2 separate regions of the Homo sapiens genome follow, and region 2 is linked to region 1. The links are contacts of gene promoters, found by promoter capture Hi-C in blood cells and fetal thymus (Javierre and others, 2016). All regions are on one chromosome and are shown on one strand. Each heading gives the region's core, a stretch centred on a gene start or on the middle of the fragment in contact. The rest is flanking DNA. Distances are from core to core; before and after follow the strand shown.

Evidence for each region. The method cuts DNA at HindIII sites, captures the fragments that hold promoters and counts their contacts. A CHiCAGO score of 5 or more calls a contact.
Region 2: a contact is called between a fragment that was not itself captured here and the fragment with the promoter of MPHOSPH6 in region 1, in 1 of 17 cell types (monocytes). The highest score is 6.1, in monocytes.

The regions. Positions count from the first base shown.
Region 1 is chr16:82,166,739-82,172,759 of GRCh38, reverse strand. It overlaps MPHOSPH6 (M-phase phosphoprotein 6), which reads left to right and starts at 2,536. Exons shown (of 5, transcript NM_005792.2): 1 at 2,536-2,635. The coding sequence starts at 2,585. RefSeq lists a silencer at 2,401-2,560, a cis regulatory region at 2,607 and an enhancer at 2,535-2,679. The HindIII fragment of the contact is 21,548 bases long and covers 1-6,021 here.
Region 2 is chr16:82,217,717-82,223,334 of GRCh38, reverse strand. No RefSeq gene overlaps it. Among named protein-coding and RNA genes, the nearest start is that of MPHOSPH6, 50 kb to the right of the region's middle. The HindIII fragment of the contact is 6,919 bases long and covers 1-4,784 here.

The DNA of each region.
Region 1 (6,021 bases), core at 1,287-3,786:
CCAAGTGCAGAAGGCAGACTGAGTCACTTCTCCCTTCACCTCTACTCTCACAGCAGTTCTTTGAGAATCCCACAGAAAAACCAAACTTATAGAGACAGAAAGTAGTCGTGAGGACCTGAGGAATTAGTGTTTAATGGGAACAAGAGTTTTCATTTTGCAAGATGAAGAGTCCTATGGTGGTAAAAGCAGCATAACAATGTGAATGATTGGTGGGCCTTTTCCCTGATTAACTCCTCTCTACGTTTAGGAGAGTCCTCATTTCCAGGCCAGAATGGTTTAGGTACCCTCGTTGTACCCTTTCATGACCCTCAAACTTTCCTTACCGGGCTCTCATCACAACTGTCATCTACAGCTAATTGTATGGTATATTAGTCTGCTACGGTTACTATAAGAAAACACTACACACTGGGTGCCCTATACAGACTGGTTGTGATTTTCTCACAGTGCTGGAGGCTAGAGGTCTAAGATCAAGGTGTTGGCAGGTTTGGTTTCTCCTGAGAGATTTTTTAAATTTTTTTTATTTTTTTGGCTTTCAGATAGTCTTTCCTTTATGCAAACACAACCTTGGTGTCTGTGTCCAAATTTCCTCTTCTTATGACGACATCAGTCAGACTGGATTAGGGCTCACCCTAAGGGTCTTGTTTTAATCACCTCTTTAAAAAGGACTGTCTCCAAATACATTCACATTCTGAGGCACTGGGAGTTGGAACTTCAACATATGAATTTTGGGGGATGCAATGTGGCTTATGATTAACCTCTACTGTTTCCACTTGTAAAACTTTTAACACGGACTTTGTCTTGTTCATATCTGAGGACCTTTACAGTTGATGCTGTCTTCTGAGCACACTCTACCTCCAACTCTTCATAAAACACGTTTTTCTCAACTTTCAAGCCTTAGCACCATCATCTGACAAGGGCCGTTCCAAACCACCTGGTCTAAAGTAACCCTAAGCGTTACTCTGTCACATCACTGTTTTCTCTCTTTCATAGCAGTCGCCACTTACTTACGTCCAGAATATCAGCTTCAGGAAAGGTGGGGATATGTGTTTTTACACGCTATTATACCCCCGGCATCTCACACACAGTCACAAGTGAATGAGATTCTGTAGCCACTTGGTACATTACAATGATTTTATTTACCCCTGGGAAAACCTAAAGGGCTTTTAACATCCAAATCGGTGTTTGAATTTCAGCTCTAACATGGATTAGCTGTGTGAACACCAAGTGCGTTACCCACTCTGTGTCTCAGAATCCTTAACAACACGATGACAATACCTTCTTTCCGGTTCTTATGGGGATTAAGTGAACTAATTAGCCCTAAGGTGACCAGGTCAACAATCTGACGTAGAACTCATGGTATCAGCCGAGATGCTATTAGCTTGAGGGTGTTCCAAAGCGTCGGACCTGGGAATGGTTTTCGAAAACGTGTTTAGGTGGTACCCAGAGCATTAAACACCAGGGTAGGAACGCTACCCTATTTTCAGTGGTTTTTTAAATTCTTTTTTGTTTTGTTGTTTTGTTTTTGAGACAAAGCCTCACTCTGTAGCCCAGACTGGAGTCCAGTGGCGGGATGTCAGCTCACTGCAGCCTCGACGTCCCGGGTTCCAGTGATTCTCCAGCCTCAGCCTCCCAAGTAGTGGAGACCACAGATCCGTGCCACCACACCCAGCTATTTTTGTTGTATCTTTTGTACATTTTTTGTATATTTTGTATATATTTTTTGTATGTATATTTTGTATATTTTTTGTGTATATATATATATATATATATATATATTTTTTTTTTTTTTTTTTTTTTTTTTTTTTTTGTAGAGGTGGGGTCTCCCTATGTTGCCCCTCGCTATGGTCTTTTCAATTCTTTGGATCAAAACCAGGCTTTGTTCTCATTCATGTGTCTTTGGCACCCATCCCTGCCTCCATCCCTTGCCATTTCTTGAGATTCTTCTGTTTAGCAGAGATCACTCGGCCAGACACGCATCGGCAGCAGCCTGGGAATGAAGCCAGCCTGCCTGGGGCGGCCCCCGCCGCGCTCCCCCGGGACTCCGGGCTGCTGTGAGGAAAGCAGCAACTCGTGGGGTCCTGGTGAAGAGAAAACGACCTGGACCCTGCAAAGCGACCCAGAACAAAGGGAGCCCGCCACCCACGTTATGAAGACAAAACACGTGGGTAACACGGCCCAGGCGGGTGGCAGGCGTGGCGGAAACCTCTCTGAGGCTGGCGAGGACTACTGAGTGTGGAGGGGGTCCCTGAGGAAGGGAGTCCCCGAGGGAGGATGGGCCTCCGAGGGGGCCAGGCCGACGTCCCGGGAAGGCGACCCGCGGCTCGGGGAAGCCAAGTTCTGGGTCGTCCTCTGACTTCGGCTTTTTTGCGGTCTGCCGCGCTCATCCCCGCGCCCGCCACCCCGCGAGCTTACCCGAGCCTCTCAGTCAGCAGAGCGCCCGCTGAGTGGCCGCGCCCGCGCGCAAGACACAGGGGAGGGGCGGGGCGGGGCGGCGCGCACTACGCGAGGGACGCAGCTGCGCACGCGGCTCCGCGCATGTGCGGTGAGGCTCGCGGCCGGAGTGCGGCGCTGGGCGGAAGCTACCATGGCGGCCGAGCGAAAGACAAGGTTGTCCAAGAATCTACTGCGCATGAAGGTGCGGGGACGCTGAGAGCGCCACTCCGGGCGGTAGGGGCACCCGGTCCTTCCAACCTGGCCGGGGCCGAGGCGGCGGGCGGACAAGGGACACCAGAGAGGCCTCAGAGGGCTTCCAGCTCTCGTGCTCATTCATTCACTTAGCGCCTGCTCTGCACTGTTTACTGGGAACCAGCTTACGAATTAGGCCGACTCTCTCAGGAGGCCCGCGGGCGGATGGGAGCTTGAGTACACAGAAGCAGTCAGGGTACAGCTTACCCAGTGCAGTGAGGGTAGAAGCGCTGGGGACCTTGGGGACTCACCGAGCTTCTCGAGAAGTTGTTGCTTACTTATATATGCAATAAATATGATATATGGGAAGTGTAACTCCTTAGCTGGGTAATTTAGGTAAATTCACTTCTTTCTCTGAATATCTCTTTTCCTCATCTTTAAAAAGAAGAGCATTAGGCTACATGAGTTCAAGCTCCTTTTTAATTTTGATAATACTTCTTTTAGTAGAGTTCTTCAGAGAAACAGAATCAACAAGATGTATATGTGTATATATGTGTATGGAGAGAGGGGGTATTTTTAAAACTGGATCACACGACTGTGGAGATGCAAGTCTAAAATCTGCAGGGTGGGCCAGTAGGCTGGAGACCCAGAGAAGTACTCAGTCCAAGTCCAAAGACAGTCTGCTGGCAGAACTCCCTCTTCTTCCAGGGAGAAGAGGGTGAGTCTCGCAGGGTAGTCTCTAGGTTACTGGGAGGGTGGAAGGCACAGCGTCCTAAACTAGGAGAAACTGAGTTCAGAAGTCTGAGAGGCAAGAAAGAAAAAGAAAACCATGGAAATTTCCAAGAATTAGAGACAATTCAGTATGTCTGGAAGGCAAGTACTAAGAAATGGGGTTGCAGAGTAGGCAATGGTCACAACGTGCAGGGAATTTGAGGCCAGATTAAAGATATTTTCCTTTATTTTGTGAGCAATGGAAAGCTATTGAAACGGGGAACAGTATCAAGAAAATGGCAAATATTTATAGTACTAGACAATGATTGAAGTGGTTTGCGTATATTAACCTATGCAATTCACATAATGACACTTTGAGGTGACTACAGGCAGTAACTCTCTTCTTACAGCTAAGGCAACTGAAACAGAAATAAGTAATTTACCCAAAGTTACACAGCTAATAAGTAGTGTAGACAGGACGGGAATTCAGGCAGTCTGGCTCCAGAACCCTGGCTCTTTATTACTACTCTGTACTCTGTGATGCCTGTCACTAAGCACTACTTCTAGAGAGTAGCAAACTGTTACATGTCATGTTTAAAGAGGTGGAATTTCCAAAAGAGGGAAGGAAGCATTCATAATGTTTTGAAAGATAGGCCATTCGCAGTGGCTCATGCCTGTAGTCCCAGCACTTTGAGAGGCTGAGGTAGACAAATCGCTTAAGCCCAGGTGTTTGAGACCATCCTGGGCAACATGGTGAAACCCCATCTCTACAAAAAATACAAAATATTAGCCAGGCCTAGTGGCACGCACCTTTAGTCCCAGCTACTTGGGAGGCTGAGGTGGGAGGATCACTTGAGCTTGGGAGATCAAGGCTGCAGTGAGCTGAGATGGCGCCACTGCACTCCAGCCTTGGTGACACAGGGAGACCCTGTCTCAAAAAAAAAAAAAAAAGAGAGAGAGTAAACATTATATGGGCAAGATTTGAATGGAGTTGAGCTAGGATGGAGTTAGGGATGAATGGGTGAATGAGGGTGGAGGACAAATTGCAGCATAACTTAGAGTTTGTCAAGCACTTTCATGCATATTAGCAAAATTTGAATCTTTACTGAACAGAGTTTGATTTTATGGTTGGTAATAACATTAACTTCAGAGAAGTGGAGTGAATTGGCCAAGCAGATATTGGAAAGATTTTAGCAGTTGTTTTAGCTCTTGGAATAAGCCAGATGATGTACTGGGTGACTCAGGCTCAAACTAAATATCCGAGTTGCAACTAAGAAGAAAGAAATTAACTTAAATGTCCACCCCCACCAAATGGGGAGACTCAACTGGACGTTGGAAGCAAAGGAGAAGGAAAAAGATCACCCACATTCTCTATTTGGTTTAGCAGCTTTGGTCATTGATAAGAAAAAACTTACTGGCAAGATAGCAGGAGACACTGTCTATACTGATAGAACAGAGTATACTGTGAGAAGGCATGGAGTAGCTGCACTTAGGGTGCCTTAACCAGAGCTAAGTCCTATATAGCATGGGTCCCCAACCGCCAGGCCATGGACCAGCACCAGTCCATGACCTGTAAGGAACAGGCTGCACAGCAGGAAGTGAGCAGCGGGCAGGCAAGCGAGCGAAACTTCATCTGTATTTACAGCTGTTCCCCATAGCTTGCATTACCACCTGAGCTCCGCCTCCTGTCAGATCAGTGGCAGAATCCTAGATTCTCCTAGGATCAGAAACCCTACTGTGAACTGTGCATATGAGGGATCTACCTTGCGCTCTACTTACGAGAATCTAATGCCTGATGATCTGTCATTGTCTCCCATCACACCCAGATGGGACTGTCTAGTTTCAGGAAAACAAGCTCAGGTCTTCCACTGATTCTTCATTGTGGTGAGTTGTATAATTATTTCATGACATATTATAATATAATAATAGAAACAAAGTGCACAATAAATGTAATGCACTTGAATCATCCCTAAACCATCTACCCTTCCCCTCTCCACCACCCGTGGAAAAATTGTCTTCCAGGAAGCCCATCCCTGGTGCCAAAAAGGTTGGGGACCACTTTTTAGGCAAGTATAAGAGGGTTGAGGATTTAATCCTGACTCACTTCAATGCCTCTGACTTGGTCAGCCATTGCAGGGTGATCCTAATGGGAAGAAGAAAAAGAAGGATGTGGATGGAAGGTCTTCCAGTATGGAATGGTTGTAGAGGGTGCTTATTTGTGATTTTGGCACTGTTAGACTCTCAGAACAGGGCTTGGCAAACTTTCTGTAAAGGACCATATGATAAATATTTTGGTCTTATGAGCCAGACAGTCTCTGTTACAACTACTCAGCTCTGCCAGTGTTGTTCAAGACCGAATGACCATGGTTGTGTACCAGTAAAACTTTATCGACGACAACAGACATCTAGCCTGAGGACTGTATTATGCTGATGCCTGCTCTGAGTCCTCACTAGTTTTGGAATGTGTTCTGAAATGCTCTAGAGTAGGAGAATCGAACTTGTACCTAAGTCTGGAGGTGCTTGATTCATATTCACAGGGAGTTCTGTCCTTTCTATGTGTACAGAACATATGTATATGGCTGTTGTATACCAAAAGAATAGGTACATGACTAAATGGGAGAAAAAAGGGCAGTTGGGCAGTATTGATGAGTTTTACCACGAGGAATATTAGTGATGAAATGAGGC
Region 2 (5,618 bases), core at 76-2,575, 52 kb before region 1:
GGATTAAGGACTTAGAGGTAAGACCTGATACTATGAAACTACTAGAAAAAAAAAAAAAAAAACTTTGATCTGGGGAAAGATTTTTGGGGGTTAGACTTCAAAAGCATCAGTAACAAAAGCGAAAACAGACAAATGTGATTGTATCAAGCCAAAAACTTCTGCACAGCAAAGAGAACAATTAATGAAGTGAAAAGACCACCTACAGCATGGGAGAAAATATTTGCAAACTATCCATCTGTCTCAGTTTGTGTTGCTTTAAAGGAATACCTGAGACTAGGTGACTTATAAAGAAAAGAGGTTTATTTAGCTCACTGTTCTGCAGGCTGTACAAGAATCCTGGCACCAGCTTCTGCTTCTGGTGAGGGCTTCAGGCTGCTTCCACTCATGGTGGAAGGTGAAGGAGAGCAGGTGTGTACACAGACCACACGGTGTGACAGCAGGGAAGAGAGAGGGGTGAAAGGTACCACCAGACTCTAAACAATCAGCTCTTTGGAACTAATAGAGGGATAACTCGCTCATTACCACAAGGATGGCACCAAGTCATTCATGAGGGATCTGCCCCCATGACCCAAACACCTCCCATTAGGCCCCACCTCCATTGTTGGGGATCAAATTTCAATAGAAGGTTTGGAAGGTCAGATATCCGAACTATAGCACCATCCGATAAGGAATTAACAACCAGAATATATAAGGAACTCAAACAACTCAAGAGCAATAAAACAAACAACAGCAAATAATCTGATCTTAAAACGGACACAGGCACAGAGGCACATGCCTATAGTCCCAACTACTCAGGTGGCTGAGGCAAGAGGATTGAGCCCAGGAGTTTGAAGCTGGCCTGGGCAACACCCCAGTTGACCCCATTCCTAGTTTTTTTTAATGGGCAAAAAACCTGAACAGCCAGTTCTCAAAAGAAAATATACAAATGGCCGAAAGTTAAGCAAAAAAAAAAAAAAACTCAACATCACTAATCTTCAGGGAAATGCAAATCAAAACCACAATGAGATATCATCTCACTCCAGTTAGATTGATTATTATCAAGAAGATACAAAATAATAAATCCCGGAGGGCACAGTGGCTCACACCTGTAATCCCAGCACTTGGGGAGGCTGAGGCAGGCTGATCACTTGAGGTCAGGAGTTCCACACCAGCCTGCCCAATATGGCGAAACCCTATCTCTAGTAAAAATACAAAAATTAGCTGGGCATGATGGCACACACCTGTAATCCCAGCTACTCAGGAGGCTGAGGCATGAGAATCGCTTGAACCCAGGAGGTGGAGGTTGCAGTGAGCCAAGACCATGCCATTGCACTCCAGCCTGGGTGACAGAACGAGACTCCATCTCAAAAATAAAATAAATAAAATAAAATAAAACAAATCCTGGAAAGAATGCAGAGAAAGGGGAATTCTTGTATACTGTTGTAGAAATGCAAAGTAGTACAGCCATACGAAAAATATTATGGAGATCCTCAAAAAACTAAAAATAGAACTGCCATATGATCCAAAAATACCGCCGCTGGGTATATATCCAAAAGAAAGGAAATCATTATATTGAAGATATACTGCACTCCCATGTTTATTAGAGCACTATTCACAACAGTCAAGATACGGACTCTACCTAAGTGTGCATCAATGGATAAAGAATATGTAGTTTGTATACACAATGGAATATTATTCAGCAATAAAAAGAGTGAAGCCCTGTCATTTGCAGAAACATGGATGGAACTGGAGGTCATTATGTTAAGTGAAATAAGCCAGGCACACAAAAACAAATATCACATGTTCTCATGCCTATGTGGTAGCTAAAAAAAAATAGATCTCATGGCGGTAGAGAGTAGAATAGTGCTTACCAGAGGCTGGGGAGGGAAGGAGGAAAAGGGGGAAAGAGAAGTTGGTTAATGGGTACAAAAATACAGTTACATGGAAGAATAAGTTTTAGTATTTGATAGTTCAGTAGGGAAATTATAGTTAACAATAATTTATTGTAGATTTAAAAGTAGCTAGAAGAGAAAGAATTGTAACGTTCCCAACACAGGGGAAAGAAAAATGTTTGAGGTGATAGGTAACCCAATTGCCATGATTTGATCACTACACATTGTATATAGGTATCAAAACATCACGTGTACCCCCCAAGTACGAACTATGATATGTCAATTTTTTTAAAGTTATGAAACATTTTTAAAGGGAAGTATAGAATAAAAGGGAAAATGAGGAAGAGAAGACTGAAGTAATCAGAAGAGAAAAGAAAGGGGAAAAGGAAAGAAAAGAAAAGAAAGGAAAGATGGAAAAAAAGAAGGTTCTTGCTTTGGCTTTCGGTGTAATCCTGCCCTTTGCCATGCTTATGTCACACACTCACACCATACACACACACATACATCATATACACACCACACACCACACACACCACACACACATACCACACACACTGCACACACACCATACCACACACACATCATACACACACCATACAACACACACACACACATCATACACACACACATCACACACACACCACACACACCCCACACCACATACACAAACCACACATGCCACACCGCACACTCACACACCACACACACCATGCACACGCCACACACACCCCACACACCACATACACATCATACACTCACACCACACACATCATACGCATATGCCACACACCACACACACACCATGCACAGCACACACACACATCATACACACACCACACACACCACACCACACACACACCACACACCACAGCACACACACACCACACAACACACATCGTACACACACACCACACATTCACACACCACACACAATCACATACCCACACACAAACACTATGAACCACAGCACACACACCACGAATCACACAGCACACACACCACACCATACACACAGCACACACACCACGCCACACACCCCACACACCACATCACACACACCACACACACACATCACACACACAAACCACATTCATACACCTCACACACCACACACTACTTCTTTACAGTTGTCTCAGCCCCACACATCTGGCACATGATGTAGAAGTTGGCAACATTTTGATGATCCGAGATATTCCTTTCAAGAATACAAACGAAGGCCATAAACACATCAATTATTTTCAATTGTTTTAAAATTAAAATATAAAAGATTCTCAGAATGAAACCATTTACCAAAACAAGTTTTATGAAAGATGAATACTTAAGTTGCTTTCTATATTTGGTAATCTGCTGTACTTCTTTCTGAGTTTTTCTTAACAAAGAAAATATACTTATTGTGCGAATGGATGGTACACAGTTAGAATAGAAATTATAAATCGTTAAACAGCATAACCCCAGCCAGAATTTGTTTTCCATCCCCCCTCCTGTATACCCACCCACCCTCTGACCCCTTGGAAATGTGGCTTAGACATAAGAATTTTATCGTTGGGGAATATGTTGGTGGTTGACAAAGAAAACAGCATAAAATATTTTAAATTAGGACGGTCACATACGCACATATGTAAGCATCTGAATGCGTGCATACACACACCAGCCCCAGGTACATGGAAACCATACCCACAACCCTCTCATCTACCGATATATAAAAGGAAATTCTGAAATTTGAATTACAGCTTCCACCTTCTCAGTGGAACCTTATTATATTACTGGATGAGCTGTCAAACAGTCTGATAACGCTGTTTAAAATTCACAATTGGGCATATGTTTCCATTTAATCTGAGAAACAGCAAGGCCCACTCTAGCGGGTGATATGCTGTTTATCTGCTGCTTCCGCCGCGGTTGTCAGTGTTTCTGAAATGCCAGTGCTACCGGCAAAGCACTCTGATTAGGACGTCAGTCTGCCTTTGAGCAAAGGCTGCCAACAGCCAGCCTGTGCGGGGAAACAGAAGGGCCCTTAGCTATGGCCCAGGGTTGGGAAGCGCGTTAGAAAGTACCCACCAAAATGGAAGAAATTGCTGAAGAGAACTGGGCTTCCAAAAGGTAGCTTGACCTATCTGGACATGTGAGCCAGTATCGAGAGATGCCTTTTGTCAGGAGACATACTCGGGCGACTTCACTCTCTCTAAATCCCCAGTTTTCATTGCAAATACATAAGTATTGTTTTATATTCTTAAGAGTAAAAGGACAATAACAGAGAAAATTCTTATTCTTTTTCTTATTTAAATTTGAATTGTATAAATAGCATATAGATAATATTCAGATTGTAAAAGATTCAAACATCCAAAAATACACAATTTAAAACATGAGTGGGCCCTTTCCCTGTTCTTTGGCGGGTACTCTCCATTGCTGCATGGATTTATACATGGATCTTTACATATATGAACACACACTTTCTTTTTTTTAAACACAAAAGGAAGCCGGCTCTCCTATCAGTTCTGTGACTTGCTTTCTCCACTTCATAGTGACACATCTCAGAGATCATCCCACATCTGAACACACAGCTATACCTCATTCTTTATAATGACTATGTAGCTTTGCACAGAAAATGTATACGATAATGTATTCACTACACCCTCAGTTATTGACGTGCATGTTGCCTCCAGTTTTTTACTTTTATAACTAATGCTAACACGAACTTCCTTGTACATAGATTTTTATAAAACATGTGCTTGAGGGTTTTTGGTTAAAAAATCTCCTAGAAATGGATTGTTAAGTCAAAAACTATGTGAACCTTAAAATCTGATTTATATTAACGAAGTGCCTTCCCAACAGGCTTGAACAACTCATGCTTCCACCAACAACATATGAGAATGTGTATTTCACTGCATTGTTGTGAAGATCTGGTATTATCAAGCTTTTTGATTTTTGACATTCTAAGGAATGATAATCTTATTTTTTATGTTACTAATTACAACTTCAGATGACCTTATTTCCTTAAATATTTTGGACATTCCTTTTTCATTCCTTTGCAAATTACCCAATCTTTCTTTTTCTGCACATTTTTATTTAGGTGTTTGCCATTTACAGCAACTAATTCATAGAAGTTTCATTATTGGGTATTAATACGTTTTCTGTTACATATGTTGAAAATATTTATCCCAATCTCTCCACTTAGAATGACCTTAATTTCAGCACAAACTTTGTTAATTGGTCTTCAATGTTCTTAATTTTTTTTTCTTTAGGTCATCAGATAACTTTGTCTTTTGGTTATGTAACATGTTAACATTAGGACAACCTGGGAGAAGGGTACACAGGAACTCTCTGCACTATCTTTGCAACTTAAATGTAAATCAAAACTTATTCCAAAACAAAAATGATATACACATGTAAATATATATGTGTGTTTATGTCTGCATTTGCTAAGTTGTCCTTCCACAACTGCATTTTATGCCACTACTAACTTTTCATCACTTTGTACGGAATACATATTTGTATGACAGTAACAGTGATTAAATAAGTAAGTGGACCTTGTAGTAAGTGAGTTATTTCTTTGCTGCCATTATGTCTAATTCTCCATAGGTTATTCCATCTGAAGGCTTTTTAGAATCATAAGTAGCTAAGATCATTTTTCACCTCATCATCCCATTATCCATAATGAGAAAATACTTTTAAATGTGAAGATTACTCTTTCCAAAGATCCCTAGTGAGGGCTCCTATAGGCATTAGAGAAATTTATGAACTGTATGTTTT